Regions from separate parts of the Homo sapiens genome. Here region 1 is linked to region 2. Evidence: promoter capture Hi-C in 16 types of primary human blood cells and fetal thymus (Javierre and others, 2016). All regions are on one chromosome and are shown on one strand. The core of a region is centred on a gene start or on the middle of the fragment in contact, and the rest is flanking DNA. Distances in the headings are between cores, read along the strand shown. Region 1 has its middle 31 kb from the start of UTP14A. Region 2 holds the start of APLN (apelin).

Region 1 (4,947 bases), core at 2,210-4,709, 220 kb after region 2:
ACTTCTGACCCCAGTGAATGTCTCATTTGCCACCGAGTGTTAAGCTGCCAAAGTTCCTTCACAATGCATTACCTCCCTTGGGAAAACTGGCCTCCATACCTTGTCTACACAGTCCCTGTACAGGTTTCCTGATCGGTAAGTAAAGAATGTTGCTTTCTAACAGGCCCAGGAGCCCCAAGTTATCCTGGGACCTCAAGAGAAGAGGAAATTTAGGTATTTGATGGTACAAACCCATGGCTGGGTTCAGCTTTAAAAAAGTCTTATCTGGCCGGGCACGGTGGCTCACGCCTGTAATCCCAGCACTTTGGGAGGCCGAGGCGGGCAGATAACGAGGTCAGGAGATTGAGACCATCCTGGCTAACACTGTGAAACCCCATCTCTACTAAAAAAATACAAAAAATTAGCCGGGCATGGTGGCACATGCCTGTAGTCCCAGCTACTCGGGAGGCTGAGGCGGGAGAATTGCTTGAACCCAGGGGGCAGAGGTTGCAGTGAGCTGAGATTGTGCCACTGCACTCCAGCCTGGGCAACAGAGCAAGACTCCACCTCAAAAAAAAAAAAAAAGTATTATCTAAGATTTCTTAAGGAACAGAGTTCCGTCAAAGACAATTTTAAAAGCCTATGTTAAAAATAATTATTCTTGAAGTCAAGGCAGGCGGATCACTTGAGGTCAGGAGTTCAAGACCAGCCAGGCTGGTATGGTGAGACCCTGTCTCTACTAAAAATAGAAAAATTAGCTGGGCATGGCAGCGTGTGCCTGTAATCCCAGCTACTTGGAAGGTTGAGGCATGAGAATCGCTTGAACTCAGGAGGTGAAGGTTGCAGTGAGCCAAGATCATGCCACTGCACTCCAGCCTAGGCGACACAGTGAGACTCCATCTCAAGAAAAAAAAAATCTAACAATTATTATTATTATTGCTGCACTTTATACACATAATCAGGCCAAGTATAATAAAGCAAATCAGTCTTACCATGATTTGTCTTTAGTAAAAATGGGAGACTGGAGAGAGAAAAATTGTTTCAAGAACGATGGTACGCCTGTTATTAAATTATAGTCTCATTCGTTGTTTTTAAGGGTTTTTTTTCCTGCAATTTAGACTAACCGTGCTTATTCCTGTGAACCAACCAGTGATCTCTGGCTGCTGCTCAGAAGAAACAAGAGGGATGGGTAATGTAAAAATCTGGGTCAGTATTCTAATTCTGGGCACATATTAGAATCAGCTAGCGACACCATATCAGCTTGGTTTCAACAATTGCCCAGTTCGTGGAAAGCTTTCTTATTCAGTTCACTTGGAATAATTTTACTTACTTTGTTTTACTGTTGTGGAAAATATTGCTGCTGTACTCTTTGTGTAGGAATGCAGGATAAGCTTACTCAACATTTTCTTAAATTGAATACTTACTACAGATATCAGCTTTTGTCAGAACTCAAGAGTTATGGATGGCCCTCACCATACTTACACTTTCTGACTGAGCTCCTCTCTACCCTGAATACAAGAGACCCTAATAGGTAGGCAGGAGTATCATTGCCCAATTCAGCCTGAAGAAGTTACGGAAGATGGATCTTTGTCCCTCTATAACCCTTAAGATTAAGGGTTCCTGGCCAGATGCGGAGGCTCACACCTGTAATCCCAGCACTTTCGGAGGCCGAGGCGGGTGAATCACCTGAGGTCACGAGTTTGACACCAGCCTGGCCAACATGGCAAAACCCCATCTCTACTAAAAATACAAAAATTAGCCAGGCATGGTGGCACGCACCTGTAGTCCCAGCTACCTGGCAGGCTGAGGCAGGAGAATCGCTTGAACTCGGGAGGGGAAGGTTGCAGAGGGCCAAGATCGCGCCACTGCACTCCAGCCTGGGTGACAGAGCAAGCCTCCATCTCAAAAAAATAAATAAATAAATAAATAAAATAATAATAATAATAAAAGATTAAGGATTCCTTTGTAAAACGCAGGGGAGAAATATGTCAGAGGTGTTCAAACCAGAGTGCCTCCATCCTGAATAGGGGCTGGGTAAAATGAGGCTGAGACCTACTGGGCTGCATTCCCAGGAGGTTAAGCATTCTAAGTCACAGGATGAGATAGGAGGTTGGCACAAGATACAGGTCACAAAGACCTTGCTGATAAAACAACATGTGGTAAAGAAGCAGACCAAATCCCACCCAAACGAAGATGGTGAGGAAAGTAACCTCTGGTCATCCTCACTGCTCATTATATGCTAATTATAATACATTAGTATGCTAAAAGACACTCCCACCAGCACCATGACAGTTTACAAATGCCAAGGCAATGTCAGGAAGTTACCATTTATGGTCTAAAAGGTGGAGGAACCGTCCGTTCCAGGAGTTGCCCACCACTTTCCCGGAAAACTCATGAAAAACCCGCCACTTGTTTAGCATGTAGTCAAGAAATAACCACAAAAATAGCCAACCAGCAGCCCTCAGGGCTGCTCTGCCTATGGAGTAGCCATTCTTTTATTCCTTTACTTTAATAAATTTGCTCTCACTTGGAAAAAAATCATACATTACCACACCCACATTGGGGAGAGACCCATCCTATGTGAAATCTGTGGACAAGCTTTTTCTACCAAAGGCAACGTAAAGACACTTCTCAGGGTTCATGGAACCAACTCATCCATAAGTACATACCCCATTAGTCAAAAGAAATTTGCCAGTGTGGTCATGTTGCAACAACATATTTGGATGAACATGGGCACTCAGATTCCCAGCATGTCCCCGCCAGAGAATCCCTGTGATTTTAGGGGTCCTGAGCCAATGATGGTCAGTGAGAATGGTAATACAAGTGCCATCTGCCATGATGATGTTGAAAGAAGACACCACTGTGGATAAAGTCAGCTCCCAGGATGCCCCCAGTAGCTACTCAAAGGTCCTCACACCTCTTCTTAGCATCCACTTAATATAACCCACCCTAGGGTTTGCCACAAAGGCTTCCCTAGCAGTCACCAGGAAAGTGGGTCCTGTTCCTTCTGGCCTGCAGAGGCAGAGCAGCTGAAAAACGATTCAGTGGAGAGCAACAGTTTAATGACTCATTCTCACTGATGGGACACCAGGACTATTAGCCAAACTCCAGATGCTGTGGAAACCACATCCTTCCAGGCACGCTCCCTAGCAACTAGCCAAGCAGAAAGCATTATGACAAAGTCTCCAGATGCTGGGAGCAAAGCTGAGCACCCCAAGAACAGCCACACTGAGATGGGCTGTCTCCCATCAACGTTTTTCTGAGCCCAGTCAACATATGTCAAAGTTCAAGTTTTAACAGGTTTGGTGGCTAGCGCTTGTAATTCCAGCTACTAATGAGGCTGGGGCAGGAGGATCACTTGAGCCCAGGAGTTCAAGGTTGTGGTAAACTATGACTGTGCCACTGCACTCCAGCCTGTGCGAAAAGGAGAGACCCTGTCTCTAAAAAATAAAAATGAAAAGTTGAAGTTCCTGGTAATACAAATAGGAGACAGGGAAATACTGGACAGAAGAGGGCAGTTCCCCAGCAAAGGCCCCACCCTCAAGCCTGGATATCCACAGCCCTAAGTGAGAACAGGCATTCCTGTTTTTGTGCCGAAAATGTTGCCTTTTGGCCCATCACGCCCCCATCCTGTACCCATATAAACCCCAAACCCGAGGCTCCAGAAGCAGGAGATGAGGAGATGAGCAGACAAATGGCAGAATGGCACGGCACAGGAGAGAAGAGAAGAAACGTCAGGAGTTTTGCTGGGGGTGGTCAGAGAATCAGCCACCAGATGGCCAAACTGCAAGGGAAGATCATCTTCCCACTCCATCCCCTGTCCAGCTCCTCATCTATCCCACTGAGAGCCACCTCCACCACCCAATAAAACCCTGCATTCTCCATCCTTCAAGTCCATGTGTGACCTGATTCTTCCAGGATTCTGGACAACAGCTCAGGATACAGAAAACTGTCACACTGGCCCTCTGCCTTTGCAGAAAGGCAGAGGGTCCACTGAGCTGATTAACACTTAAGCCATCTGCAGATGGCAAGGCTAAAAGAGTGCACTGTAACACACGCCCACTTGGGCTCCTGCACCTGTCTGTCTGTGTACTCCCCCTCCTGTAAGAGGTTTGAGCAGCGACCAAACAGACAAGCCACACCCATCACACGTCCTGTGAGGGGGGCCAGGGAACTCTCCCCTTTCACTGGCACATTTGTTGGATCCTCAATCATGTCCCTGGTGTTAGCGGCCCAGCCACACTGACAGGCCAAGCAACACAGCTGCACACAGTGTGAGAAGAACTTCTTATCCACTAGTGCTCTTCAGATTCACAAGTGGACTCACACTAGAGAATAGCCTTTTGTGTGCAGCATACATGGGCAAGCTTTTACCACCAAAGGCAACTTGAAGGTCCACTGTATGACTCATGGAGCAAACAATAACTCAGCACACCAGAGAAGGAAGCTAGCCATTGAGAACACTATGGCTTAATTAGGTATGAATGGAAAGAATCTCAGAAATGTTTACTGGAAATCCTGGCCCCTTCAGTGAAGGTGGTGGAACCAATATACCAACATGCTCAACAGTGGTCTTGCCATGAAGACTAGCGAGATCTCTATGACCCAGAGTGGTGGTGTTCCCACCCTCCCAGTTTCTGTGGGGGCCAACTCTGCTGTGAATAACACTGCTGAGTCCAAGATGGATGGCTCCCAGTCAGGTATCAGTGCCAATGTGGAAAAACCAGGTGCTACTGAGACTGTTCCCACACATTGGTTCCCTCACTTCCTGGAAGAAAACAAGATTGTGGTCAGCTAAGCTAAAGGGGAACTTGCCTGGAAGAAGAAATGTAGACAGAGTGAAATGTCTAGACCATGCTTGTTCAACCCTCAGCCCGCAGGCCACATGCAGCCCAGGGCGGCTTTGAATGTGGCCCAACACAAATTCGTGAAGTTTCTTAAAACATTCTGAGATTTTTTTGTGATTTT
Region 2 (4,538 bases), core at 929-3,428:
TTTGCTAGTACTGTCCCAATGGCTGGGACCCAGGAGGGTCTGAGTGGTTGTCTATTGGCCAGGGGTCTCCCCACAGCCTCTGGGGGGAGCACCAAGTGTGCAGATCCAGGAGCCCTACCTTCCTCTGGAACACTCTCTGCACCCAGTCTTCTTCTTCCCTGAAGGCACCACCCTGGACTATTTGCCTGTGGTGGTATTGTGCAAGTGTCATGCCTTGCCAATGACACCAGATGGTAGGCTCCCTGAGGATAGGCTGGTATGGTGTATCATTCGTATCTTACATTCGTATCTTTTGCTCCCTCTGTTACCTGCCTGACAGGAGTTTCTGTGGAAAAAGCCTACCCACTTCTTACTGTGGTGGTGGCTCACTTCGTGTTCAGGTCTTGAATAGAGAAATCACCGGCCAGCTACCTGGAGGCAGGAGGTGCCAGCCCCAACCACTGCACCTTTCTGAGAAGCCAGGCAGTGTTCCCAGAGCCACAGCAGGGCCAAAAAGCAAGAGCAGAGAAAGGAGGTGGCCTGCGATGAGAGGCAGGCAGAGCTGGCTGGGCCCCTCGGAGGCTCCTGGGCTGCATGCCATCCTCCTGTTCTGGAGGGTTTGGAACCACTTAGGGCCCTGTGCCCTTGCCCCAGGAAACTCACTGCCCTGCCTTCTCCTTCTTTCTGCTCCCACCTCCCTGTGACTCCAGCCATGGTCCTGGCGTTAGTCCACCTGGTCTTGGCCTTCCCCTTGTGTGGTGCCAGGCAGGCAGCAATGACAGCCAGATCATAGGACTGTGGCAGCTGGAGGTGGGAGCTGGCAGCCCCAGGAGACATTGACACAGAGGACAGGCAGCCTGGGATGGGGCTGCTGGGGCGTGGTTGGGGACCAGGCTAGGGGCGGACATGGGCACTAGTGCCAAGTATTGGCAGGTGAGGGCAAAAGGACTCCCCTTTCCTGAGCTGCAGGGAGGGGTCGGGTCAGGTGCTGTGCTTCCTCCTTTGGTGCCTAGCGGCAGGGAGACTAAAGTGAAGCATGTCCGTGCCTGGGACAGAAAGGAAGGCTGGAGCCAGGATGTAAGAGAACCAAGTCTCTGGGGGTGGGATGGAGGCTATGGGGAGGGCATCCTGTGCAGGGGAGGAGACCAGCCAGGACCTTGGGGTTAGGGAGGAGAAGACCAGCCCAGCCCGGCTGGGCCCGGCCCTGCCTGGGGGAGGCTGCCTCTGCTCACACATGCAGGCCGAAAGGAGCAACAGCTGGGCTCCATGCCGCCACCCCCTCCGCGCACTCCTGCCTATGCAACAAGTGTCACGTCTGCATGTTGGCACATCATCCCCGGTTTCCCGCGCCCCTGGACTGGCGGGAGGCTCCCAGCCTTCAGGGACCAGAAGACGTTCAACATGGGAGCCCAGCCCACTCGACTCTGGTCAGTTCCTTCCATCGATCCACGAGGGAGCGGGCATGTCCCCCGCCTCCACCTCTACCACGCGGGGTGCAGGGCGTGGGACACGCGGCGCACACCTGTGGTCCTGAGCTCCTGGGACTGCGAGCGACGGTTAGGAGGGACAAGGTGACGGGCAGGTGATGCCAAAGGCCGAGTTGAGCCCCGCAAAAGAAGCAGTCCTTGTGGCCAGCCGCCCCATGGCTCGGGGCGCTCTGTCAATCTGCTGCCTGGCGCTGGCCGGCGCGTGGCTGCTACTGCACGGCTCGCGCCGGGCTCCCCGGGAGGCGGGGAGAGTGCGAATAGGGCGGAGGGAAAGGAGCACGCCGGCTGCAGCCCGGGCGAGCGGGAGGGCGCGCACTCACCTCCACACACCGCGGTCAAGGAGAGCCAGAGCAGCAGGAGCGCCTGCACGCAGAGCCGCAGATTCATGCTGCTCCTTGGGCCGCCGCGGCCCCGGCGAGCCGGCGCGGGGGAGGAGAGGTCGGGCGCCCGGAGGCCAAGAAAGGCGCGAGCCGCGGCTGGCGCGTGCGGGCGCAGAGCTCGGGAGGCTCCCCGGCCGCTGAGTGTGCGCGCTGAGCCCCGCCGCTCCCGCTGGCCGCCTCCGCTCTTCTGCAGCCTCCTCTCCCGCCGCGGGGCAGCGCCGCGAAGCTGGCCTCGGCGGCTCCGGGAGCGGCAGCGGCGAGCTCTTTCTTAGCGGCTGGCTGCTCGGCCGCGGCTGCAACTGCCCGTGACCCCGGCTGCCAGAGAGAATGCTCCCCGCTCACTCCAGGGGCTGCATTTTGTAGCTTGTGGCTTGGCCGCGAGCCCACTTGGTCATGTGGTCATCGGGAGGGCTAGAGGGGGGGCAGGAAGAGGGAGAGGGAGCGAGCCTCCCGCACCGCCCCCCTCCAGGCACGCACTCTGCAGCCCCAGCCCGAGCGTGAGCGCGAGAGGGAACCCCGAGGTGGCCCCACAACAAAGGCTGCGCGGCCTCTCTGACAACCTACAACCGCTCCCCGGACAATGCCCGCCTGGCCGGGGGCCAGAGGGTTTGCAGAGACCTGAAGGATTTCAAACACAGGAAGCATTTGGGGCGGTGGAGGGGCACACTTAACCCTTTCTCACCTTGCTTCCTTAACAGCTGTCAGGAAACCTGGGCGCTTAGGGAAGGACTCAGTCTGGGTTGCCTTCACTCACGCCCTCTACCTCTGACCCTGGTCCTTGCCCTTGCCGCTGGCCAGCTTCAAGGGTTTGGTCAAGACAACCAAACACTGGCCCTCCTCTCTCCTCTGCATTTTCAACTGGCTTTGAATTGGGGGTGACTGCCTAGGCTTGTGCCCAAGGCTTGATTAATTGCCCAGGCCCCTCATGTTCCCTGCATCCCCCAGGAGGCACCCTCTACCTGGAATGCCCCCACCCCACCCTTCCGTGAGCAATTCATTCTTTGCAGCAGCACCTCAAATCCCATCGCATCCAGAAGCCTTCTCAGGATAACACTAATCCAGCAGGGGCCGCCCATCAGCTCCTCCCCACTGTTGGGACATGGGACAGCTCCTATGGTCTACCCTTTCTTGTTCCCTGGAGCTGTCCTCATTCTAGTTCCCCATCAACGTAAGAGGCAGGTGGTTTACCCAACTCCACACAGTCAAGGCTGGATTCATTTTGCGTGTACTTGCGATTCCGCTTTAGAAGCGGGTCCTGAAGTTGTTTGCCTTTCCAGACTCGATTGTTAGCTGCTTCTATAGCTTGGGAGCTCCCAAGGCATGGGGCTGCTTCCCTCATTGGACTGGGAACCCCCTAAGGTAGGATACTGTCTTCTCACTCTTCTGGATCTCTCCAAAGTCCCCAATATCTTGCTCTGCACATAGGTGGCACTCAACACATATTAAAAGACTGAATCGAAAGGTGTCTCCACCTTTCAGCAAGCCAGGCAGTTTGCTTGAAGTGTTAAGTCCAGATTTACACAAAAGATACATTGGACAGGGTGCGTGTGTGCCATAAAAGACATGAGAGACCATGGCATATTTAAAATATCTTTGAAATGTTGCAAAAATCCTATATATACACAATGTATTTATTATCAGTCTCTCTCCACCAGAAGGGTTACCTCCACAAGGGAGGGATCTTTGCTTTGTTCACAGCTGTGTCCCCAGACCTAGAACAGTACCTGCGACATGACTGGTACTCAATACATAATTTTGAATATATAAATGAAATTTTCAAAAACATCTTTACTGCCTAAATTCAGGTAGCAGGAAGGGAATAAGATAAGGTTCTCATTAATAGCCTATGGCCCATTAACCACACTCAAGTAAAAAAAAAAAGCATGTGAAGCATGGCACCCCTCTTCATCCTTGAGACCCAGGATATGAGTAGCAGACATGGGTAGCAGGAGACCATTCTCCCTTCACTGTTCCCCTGGAAAGAGTTTGCTTTCTTTCTCTTTTCTTTTTCTTTTTTTCTTTTTTCTTTCTTTCTTCTTTTTTTTTTTTTTTTTTTTGAGACCGAGTTTTGCTCTGTCGCTCAAGCTGGAGTGCAATACCCTATCTCAGCTCACTGCAACCTCCGCCTCCCAGGTTCAAGCGATTCTCCTGCCTCAGCCTCCTGAGTAGCTGGGATTACAGGCATGCGCCACCATGCCCGACTAATTTTGTATTTTTAGTAGAGACGGGGTTTCACCAGGTTGGTCAGGCTGGTCTCGAACTCCTGACCTCAGATGATCCACCCGCCTCGGCCTCCCAAAGTGTTGGGATTACAGGCGTTAGCCACCACGCCTGGATGGAAAGCATTTTCTAACCAGGAGGAGAAACACCTGGCTTCTAGTCTCCACCCTCATTTGCTGTAGGGCCTTGCCATCATCACCTAAACTTACTGGGGTTCATGGAGGTGATAATCTCTGCTCTACCCACTTCAAAGTTGTTATGGGATTAAGTGAGATAATGTGCCTGAAGGTACCGTGCAAATTAAGAATAAGCTCTTGCAGGGTTGTTTTTAGGAAACTTGGTGCTCCAATCCTTGATTGGGCAAGCCCATGCACACCCAAATAAGTGTCCCCCATAACTAGGTTAATAGAAGCCTTCATATTTAATTGCACCTTTACTAGGGTGTGTATGGCATATTGCTAAGTGGTTGGAA

The links. Contacts are between HindIII fragments. The CHiCAGO score rates a contact against its expected background, and 5 or more counts as called.
Region 1: a contact is called between a fragment that was not itself captured here and the fragment with the promoter of APLN in region 2, in 9 of 17 cell types (non-activated CD4 T cells, activated CD4 T cells, naive CD4 T cells and 6 more). The highest score is 11.9, in non-activated CD4 T cells.

What each region holds. Positions count from the first base shown.
Region 1 is chrX:129,872,797-129,877,743 of GRCh38, forward strand. It overlaps the pseudogene SALL4P2. Among named protein-coding and RNA genes, the nearest start is that of UTP14A, 31 kb to the right of the region's middle. The HindIII fragment of the contact is 1,769 bases long and covers 2,576-4,344 here.
Region 2 is chrX:129,652,778-129,657,315 of GRCh38, forward strand. It overlaps APLN (apelin), which reads right to left and starts at 2,179. Exons shown (of 3, transcript NM_017413.5): 1 at 1,787-2,179. The coding sequence starts at 1,853. RefSeq lists enhancers at 1,451-1,510, 3,203-3,292, 3,303-3,362 and silencers at 1,801-1,850, 1,941-2,020. The HindIII fragment of the contact is 20,761 bases long and covers 1-4,538 here.